Linked DNA regions of Homo sapiens: region 2 is linked to region 1. The links are contacts of gene promoters, found by promoter capture Hi-C in blood cells and fetal thymus (Javierre and others, 2016). All regions are on one chromosome and are shown on one strand. Each heading gives the region's core, a stretch centred on a gene start or on the middle of the fragment in contact. The rest is flanking DNA. Distances are from core to core; before and after follow the strand shown.

The links. Contacts are between HindIII fragments. The CHiCAGO score rates a contact against its expected background, and 5 or more counts as called.
Region 2: a contact is called between a fragment that was not itself captured here and the fragment with the promoter of STK40 in region 1, in 1 of 17 cell types (erythroblasts). The highest score is 5.4, in erythroblasts.

Annotation. Positions count from the first base shown.
Region 1 is chr1:36,383,149-36,387,173 of GRCh38, reverse strand. STK40 (serine/threonine kinase 40) reads left to right here and starts at 1,250. Exons shown (of 11, transcript NM_001282547.2): 1 at 1,250-1,451. It overlaps LOC124904012 (a long non-coding RNA gene), which reads right to left and starts at 983. Exons shown (of 2, transcript XR_007065779.1): 1 at 847-983; 2 at 1-755. RefSeq lists enhancers at 403-772, 803-912, 1-936 and silencers at 1,143-1,522, 1,673-1,742, 2,043-2,092. The HindIII fragment of the contact is 3,916 bases long and covers 305-4,025 here.
Region 2 is chr1:35,638,502-35,642,755 of GRCh38, reverse strand. PSMB2 (proteasome 20S subunit beta 2) reads left to right here and starts at 1,230. Exons shown (of 6, transcript NM_002794.5): 1 at 1,230-1,414. The coding sequence starts at 1,324. RefSeq lists enhancers at 325-1,289, 1,042-1,501, 1,290-2,255. The HindIII fragment of the contact is 335 bases long and covers 2,205-2,539 here.

The DNA of each region.
Region 1 (4,025 bases), core at 1-2,500:
ACATTAATTTCCTTCTCTGAGCACTGGCTTCCTCAGCTGTAAACAGCCTCCTACCTAATACTGTCTCAAGTGCTCCATGCAGAGTGTGGCACAACGGTGGGAGCTGTCCTGATTACTCTTGTTAGTCAGCCCTATCAGCAGCTCAGTGGGCACCAGGCATTCAGAGACAAAGGACACAGGTAGAGGCAGCCAGACTTCACTCATATCAGCTCTTGTGTCCTGGCACTGCCTATGTGGAGATGACAAATGCACATACACACAAGTGGCCACACACCCTAGGAAAACCCAGCAGTGCACACAAGCTTAGACACGTGTGCCCACACATGGATATAGAGTGACCCAGGGGACAGCTGGAAAGACAGCCAAGAGTTAGACATCATAAGCAGCAAACACCCTGACTCACACCTCTGGGACAAGGGAGTGGGGCTACGGCCGCTGGTGCTGCTGCCACTGAGCCCTTCTAGCTGCTTCTGCATGCCAAGGGAGGGAAGCCAGGCTCTTAGAGGGCCCCAGTGAGTCACTTGCCTGATGCAATCCCTTTAAAGGGCTCATCTGCTGGTGCAAGAAGCTGATTCATGGAGGGCGTGGTTGCTGGAGGAGGAGGAGAAAGGGACCGAAACTGCAGCAGGAGGAACTGAGGTTAGATAGCTGTAGTCGCTAATAGGAACGCTTCACTGTAAACCTCCCTGGTCAAGGCTTCAGGGATCTCCAGGTTGAAGGTTGCCATCCTCGGGGTTTCTACAAAGGCGACAGACCTAGAGGGAAATGAATTATGAGCGCTGCGACAGGAATTTCTGTCTTTTATTGAGCCTAACTGCAGGGCTTTCCTCACAGAGTTCCACAAACCGGGAAATGAGGATCAAGGATGAGTCACTTTTCTGATAAATACACTACAATTGGCCGATCTTCCAACCGCTGGGGACTTCAACCTCGGCAGGGGGAGTGTAGGGCCCGCGAGGTTCTGTGGGGTCGGGCGGGGCGGTGCCTCCGTCCCAGCCTCGCCGCAGATATAGATCAGCAGTAAGTACCGCCCCATTAGAGCCTCGGCCTCCAATCGTGTAACAGGTTTCGCCCAGACCCCACCCTGAACCAATCCTCAATCGGACTCTGGCCTCTTGCCTGAAGTCTTCCGCCCATCGTCAAGATGGCGCCCCAATCCGAAAGCCGTGGGGCTGGAGACGCAGGCGGAGGGCGGGGCCCGGGGGGGCGGGGCCGCGGCTAAGGCTGGGGAGGAGGGGGGCGGTGCGTCACTTCCGTTGTCAGGTGGCGGCGCCGCAGCCATGGAGGGAGGCGGCGGCGGCGGCGGCGGCGGCTCGGGTGGCTGCGCTGGGAGGCGGCGGTGAGAGGCTCGCACGCCTCCAGCCCGGCCCCGGCCCCCCGGGAGGGAGAGCCGAGCAGCCCCGGCTCTGGGCTACGGACTATGGGCGAATAGCTCTGACCACCCGGCGAAGGTGAGGGCAGGGGTCCAGGAGCGGGGAGCCGGGTGGGGGTTGCGGGTAGGCGGGGCGGGCCCCGGCGGCCGCGGCGGTGGAATCGGAGTGACAGCCTGAAGCCATCTGAGTGCAGCAGAAATGGCCCCGGCGAATGCCCCCTCCTCCGCTGGGGCTCTGCCCTTCCCCGGCGGCAGGGGCGAGGGCTGCCTCGCGCCGGGTACCGGGAGGCCGCGGGAGCTTCAGTCCCCGCCGCAGCTCTGGGAAGTGGGCACTGCCAGCTTTGCCTAGAGTCACCCAGCCAGTGAGTGAAGCAACCGGCGTGTGAATCCAGCCAGATCTTTCCAAAAAGACACCTTCTGCCTCTCCGTGTTTCCCTCCTAATCCCGAGGGTGACTTGATAGTTAGAACGAGTCCCCAGGGAGGGCCAGCCAGGGCTTCCTCCAAGAGCCCTCACTCTGGCACGGGCGCTACCGCTGCTGGGGAATTTTCATATCCCGGGCGGCGTTCAGGTACGAGTCACAGCTACCTGCTTGCCAAGGCCACGTTTGGCCGGCCTTTTCCAAGGAGAGCTTGCTGTGGTCAGTGTTTCACCTGCCGAGCCGGTCAGGCCCGCCCATTCCCACGCCACTTGGCCCCGCCTTCCAGCCAGTTAGGTAGGGACATTCGGATTCCTGATGCCGAGTTTTCTGCCCACCCCAATCCCCAGGTTTGAAGCCCTTTTGTTAGCGGAAGGAAGAGATGACAGCCGCCCTCTGTGTGGCAGGATAGACTTTGCTCTGTTTTAAGTCACTGGAGGAAACCGGTTGGCTTTGCTTTGGTTTTGAGAACCAGTGGGGAAGAGGGTAGGCATACTGGGCTGGGCGCCTTTCCCTCTTTGAGTAGTTTTGCGTGAGATAAGGAAGAGCAGAATGTGTAATTGTAGGGCCAAAATAATCTTGTTTGTAAACAGTGCCTGTGAGCTCCTTTAGTGCTTCCTAATGGCCGTGCTGTGCAAGTTGTTGGTTGGGTTAATCTAGACAGTCCTCATTCATTCATTCATTCATTTCTCACATGACCACAACAAGAGTCCTTGCCTAGAGGCAAGTGCTAGACAGCATAGTGGTTAAGAGTAGGCTTTGGAGCCAGACTTCCTGAGTTCAAATTCTGGCTCAGCAACTTTCCAGCTGTGTGTACCTGGGCACATTGCTTAGTCTCCCTGTGCCTCAGTGTCTTCGTCTATAAAACAAGGATGATAACAGAGAGAGATATTATGAAGAGTAAAAAGTTAACATGTAAAACATACAACCATGTTTGCCACGTAATAAGAATTCAATAAATGTTATCTATTTTTATTTCAAGGAGCATACAGTCTAATTAAGGGAAATTGACCTGTAAACAAATGGTTGAAATGTGGTCTAAAGAAGCTAGTAGTGGCTGGGCGCCGTGGCTCATGCCTGTAATCCCAACACTTTGGGAAGCCGAGGCGGGCGGATCACCTGAGGTCAGGAGTTCGAGACCAGCCTGGCTAACATGGTGAAACCCCATCTCTACTGAAAATAGAAAAATTAGCTGGGCATGGTGGCACAGGCCTGTAATCCCAGCTACTCGGGAGGCTGAGGCAGGAGAATTGCTTGAACCTATGAGGCAGAGGTTGCAGTGAGCCGAGATCAAGCCAGTGCACTCCAGCCTGAGTAACAGAGTGAGACTCTGTCTCAAAAAAAAAAAAAAAAGAAGAAGAAGAAGCTAATAGCAGCAGCAAGAGAGTACTGTGGGAGCCCAGTGGAGAAAGGGAGAAAGCTGTGAGCTCAGCCTTGGGGGTGGGGTGGGGACGGGAGTGTGCCATGAAAAGGCTTGGCAGAAGTGATGCTGGAGCTGAGTCTAAAAGGAGAGGAGGGGAGGCTTAGCCAGGTGAGAATGAATACTTTGAGAGCGAGATAGACAAATAAACTCATAGTTTATTCCAGAAATCTCAGATTGTTCAATCTAGTGGTATGGAAGTTGATATGGTGCAAGTGAAGCAGTATAGGTTCATGAAAGAATGCCATATTAGCAATTTGAGATATCATGCCCAGGGCAGCCGGGAGCAAGTGAAAAGGTCTGAAGCAGAGGAATGACATGATTGGTTACATATTTTAGAAAGATTTCACTGGAGTCCCAGTAGAGGAGGGAAGGAGGAGGACAGGAGCGACTGAAGGGCTGGAGAACTCTTCGGAGACAAACCTAGGCTTCTGAGAGAGGAGAGTTGGTGCTGGGGCGATGGATCTTTGCTGAGGAAGCACCATGTGCAACCAGTGCCAGATGGCAAGCTCCTGCATTGGCCTGGGCTTCTCTGCCTGGCGCAGAAGTGCCTGGCACATGTGCCCCTCTCTTCCTGGGATTGTAGGTTGCTTGAGCAGCTGGAGAGATAAGACTGCCCTCTCAGAAGGCCAGTTGTAAAGGGTGCTGTGTTTGCTAACTTGTGCTTTTAATCTGACCTTTGGGGAAGGCAGTAGATTGTAATAGTTAAGAGGTTATTTGAGGCCGGGTATGATGGCTCACGCCTGTAATCCCAGCACTTTAGGAGGCCGAAGTGGGCAGATCACCTGAGGTCAGGAGTTCAAGACCAGTCTAACA
Region 2 (4,254 bases), core at 1,123-3,622, 750 kb after region 1:
CTAGGTTCAAGCAATTCTCCTGCTTCAGCCTCCGGAGTAGTACAGGCGCCTGCCACCACGCCCAACTAATTTTTTGTATTTTTAGTAGGGACGGGGTTTCACCATATTGGCCAGGCTGTTCTCGAACTCCCGACCTCTTGATCCGCCCCCGTGCCCTGCCGGGTCTTTTAAAAATGGTATTGTCTCACCCGGCTCCCCTCCCATTGGTTTGTAGGAATATCTTTTAAGTTATAGATATTAACTTTTTCCTTTCTTCTGTCTATAAGGTCCAAAATAGTAACTATTTCTACAATTGAAACATTCCCAATTTACATTTACTGTTGAGCATGATAATGACTTTCACCACATAGAGACGTGTAATTTTAGGTAGTCAAATCTGTCAAGTCTTTTCTCATATTGCTTCTGGGTTCCCTGTCAAGCTTAGAAACACATCTCTTCCAAAAATTACAGAAATATTTTTCTACTTTTTCTTCCATGTTTGTATCTCTCTCCCTCTCTTTTTTTTTTTTTTTTTTTTTTTTTTTTTTTTTTTTTTTTTTTTGAGACGGAGTTTCGCTTTTGTTGCCCAGGCTGGAGTGCTCACCGCAACCTCCGCCTCCAGGGATCAAGCGATTCTCTGTCTCAGCCTCCAGAGTAGCTGGGATTACAGGCATGCGCCACCACGCCCAGCTAATTTTGTATTTTTAGTAGAGACGGGGTTTCTCCATATTGGTCAGGCTGGTCTCGAACTCCCAAGCTCAGGTGATCCGCCTGCCTTGGCCTCCCAAAGTGCTGGGATTACAGGCGTGAGCCACTGCGCCCGGCCATGCTTATATCTTTAATCCAACCATATACTATTTTTGTGAAGGATGGAAGTAAGGCTCCCCTCAAGTTAATTTTTCTCCAATCTGGCTTGCAGGAAAGGGGTTTCTGGGGAGATTTTACCGAGCAACGTAGGGAAACGGCTGCCTGGCTACCTACCCCTTTTTGACACCCACACGTGCTCGGCACCTTACATACACTGCGTGATTTTATCCTAAAGCCACTTTTAAAATCTTAGTGTGTAAACAGAGAAACTGGGCGTCACATAAGGCAAGTGACCTGCACAGCCTGCTCCGGAGGAGACCCGTACGATCCCAGAGACAAGCACTGAACATAAGGCACCCGGCGCCGCGCCCGCTTTGCAACCTCTCGCGACAGTTGTACGTCATCCGAGAGCGCCGTGGAAGTCGTGCTGCAGGCGTCGCGCCAATCTTCGCTCTGAGGTGCTGTCTCACCGGTGAGACCTGGAAGCGGGCGAGTCTCGTGCTGTGTCGGACCTGCAGCCCCTGGCCTTCCGCCACCATGGAGTACCTCATCGGTATCCAAGGCCCCGACTATGTTCTTGTCGCCTCCGACCGGGTGGCCGCCAGCAATATTGTCCAGATGAAGGACGGTGAGAGGAAGCAGGGGAGGCCCGGCCAGGCCTGGGGTGTAGGAGCGGCCAGAAGGAGTTTGTCGGGGGTTGAATAAGTACCAGGGAGGATCTGAGAGATGGAAGCCGGCCTGCCCTGCCCGTACTTATTTTATTTATTTATTTATTTTTTCGAGAGGGGTTTCGCTCTTGTTGTCCAGGCCGGAGTGCAATGGCGCGATCTCGGCTTAGCACAGTCTTTGTCTCCCGGGTTCAAGCGATTCTCGTGCCTCAGCCTCCCGAGTAGCTGGGAACAGATATGCGCCACCACGCCTGGCTAATTTTTGTATTATTAGTAGAGATGTGGATTTCTCCATATTGGTCAGGCTGGTCTCGAACTCCCGACCTCAGGAGATCCGCCCGTCTCGGCCTTCCAAAGTGCTGGGATTACAGGCGAAACAGGCAGACAGGTCTGGGACCTTGGCATTTGCTCCTCCAGGGCTCCTGGGTCAGTGCTCTGCTCTGGCCTTCGCTAAATGCTTCTTGCTTGGTGAGAGTTGCCTAAAGGGAATCAGTTTATAAATGTTTAAGCGCCTGCCCAGAGCCTGGCTCTCTAGATCCCCGAATCTCTGATAAGTTTCCTGGTGTCGCTAGTAATGAGGTTAGTTTGTTGGCGGCATAAGGTGGGATCCTGAGGAGAGTGAGACTGTGGGACTGGCTCTCTAGATCCCCGAATCTCTGATAAGTTTCCTGGTGTCGCTAGTAATGAGGTTAGTTTGTTGGCGGCATAAGGTGGGATCCTGGGGAGAGTGAGACTGTGGGACCAGAAGCTTGGCATTTTCCTTCTTCCCGTGGCTCCCGATTCTTCTTTTCCAGTTTTCCAGAGCAATGGCTGCCAGGTTTTCCTTATATTTAAGTAGTTAATGGAGTTAAGAGATTGGAGCCCTGTCATTTATTTGCCTTATGAGTTTGTATAAGTTATTTTGCAGTGCCCAGATTTCCTCATCTTTAAGATTAGCAATACCAAACTCACAAACTTGTCGGGAGGATTTAGTAAATGAGTTATGTGCAAATCCTTAGCACTAGGCAGGTACTTAATAATACTAAGTGTACGTAGGTGCCCAAACATATTTGTCAAATGACCATTAAGTCATCTGAACCAAAGCTTAATACTTTTTCAACAGTAGCACGTCTTTGATCAGTTAAGGAAAACAAACTTAGATTCTGCAGAAAAACAACCAAAATCTTCTTAAAATTATGTATTGAGTAATTTAGTATAGATAGTATAGTATAGTATAGTATAGTATAGTATAGTATAGTATATTATAGTACTTAGGGGCAAAATGTCTGGACTCACTGCATAGGTTGAACCCAGGTTCTGCCACTTGTGACCTTAAGCAAATTTCTCTAACTCCGTGCCCTAGAGCTAACATCTATAAGGTGGTAATGTAATAGCACCTATCTCAAAAGGTTAATGAATTAATGTAAATCACTTAACATAGCACCTTATACTTTATGAAATTCTATGATTAGTTTGTAGAAGTTTTGTTTGTAAGCCAGTCCTTCCAAAGGAGTGAATTTGTTTTGAGAGTAAATTTGTCCATTATTTTGAATACTAAGGTCTTTGACAAGCAAGTGATTTTAACATTAAGTCATGTCTAGGTAGAACAATAATCATTATCTTTACAGGTCTTTTGTTTCATCCCAAATGTATGTGAAATCACATTGAAAAGTAGAATGTGCTTTAAGCCTACTTATGTACACAGTACTTTTAGTCATTATAGGGGATGCAGTATATTACTTATAACCCATAGAAGAGTCCAAGACATTAAGAAAACAAGGAAATAAATGCTGCAAGATGATTTTATATAATAAAAGAAGTATTACTAGTTAGTAGTAGGTTGGTTTTTAAATTAATGAGTTCAAGAGCAAATCCTAAGAGTAATAAAAGAAAGATAACTATGGTATGGGAGAAAGATGAATTTGAGTTAGTTCTTGAAAAATAATTGGAAATAGTTGCACTCTGCACATTCCAATTTTCCCTATAGTCTTTTCTGGTATAAAACAAATTATAATAGAAATTTTAGTATTGTATGATGACTTTTTTATTTATTTTATTTATTTATTTTTGAGACAGAGTCTCGCTCTGTCACCCAGGCTGGAGTGCAATGGCGCGATCTCGGCTCACTGCAACCTCCACCTCCTGGGTTCAAGCGATTCTCCTGCCTCGGCCTTCCAAGTAGCTGGGATTACAGGCGCCCGTCACCATGCCCAGCTAATTTTTGTATTTTTAGTAGAAACGGGGTTTCACCAGTTTGGCCAGGCTGGTCTCAAACTCCTGACCTCAGGTGATCCACCTGCCTCCGCCTCCCAAAGTGCTGGGATTACAGGCGTGAGCCACCGTGCCCAGCCGTCTGATGACTTTTTTCTAATCATTCATTTCACGATGGAGCTTGTTTAGAGTAGGCAAGAATGCTGAAAAAATAGTAACCTTCTGGGACTCCTTTCTCCAAGTATAAAATGATAATACAACTTCCAATCAATTGTCCAGTATGTCACTTTGTAAAAACATTTTGATACTATAGAGTAGACATTTGCTGAGGATTGCCACCTTATTAAGTGGTATAACTTTTGGTTTGCTTATATGCCGCATTTCATGTCTCTTTTCTCTTGGCCTATGTAGAATTGCTTTTAAGTTACTCGGAGTACTCCAGCCCACACAGAATTCTCTCTTTTCTGAATTCCTATAGCATGTATAATCCGAACTACATTATCTAACACTGAGTATCATAATATTGGACATGTATAGAATTCATTAGTTTTTCTCACTTGTGAGTTAGACAGGGGTAAGTCATATTATTAACATTTCACACATTTGGAAA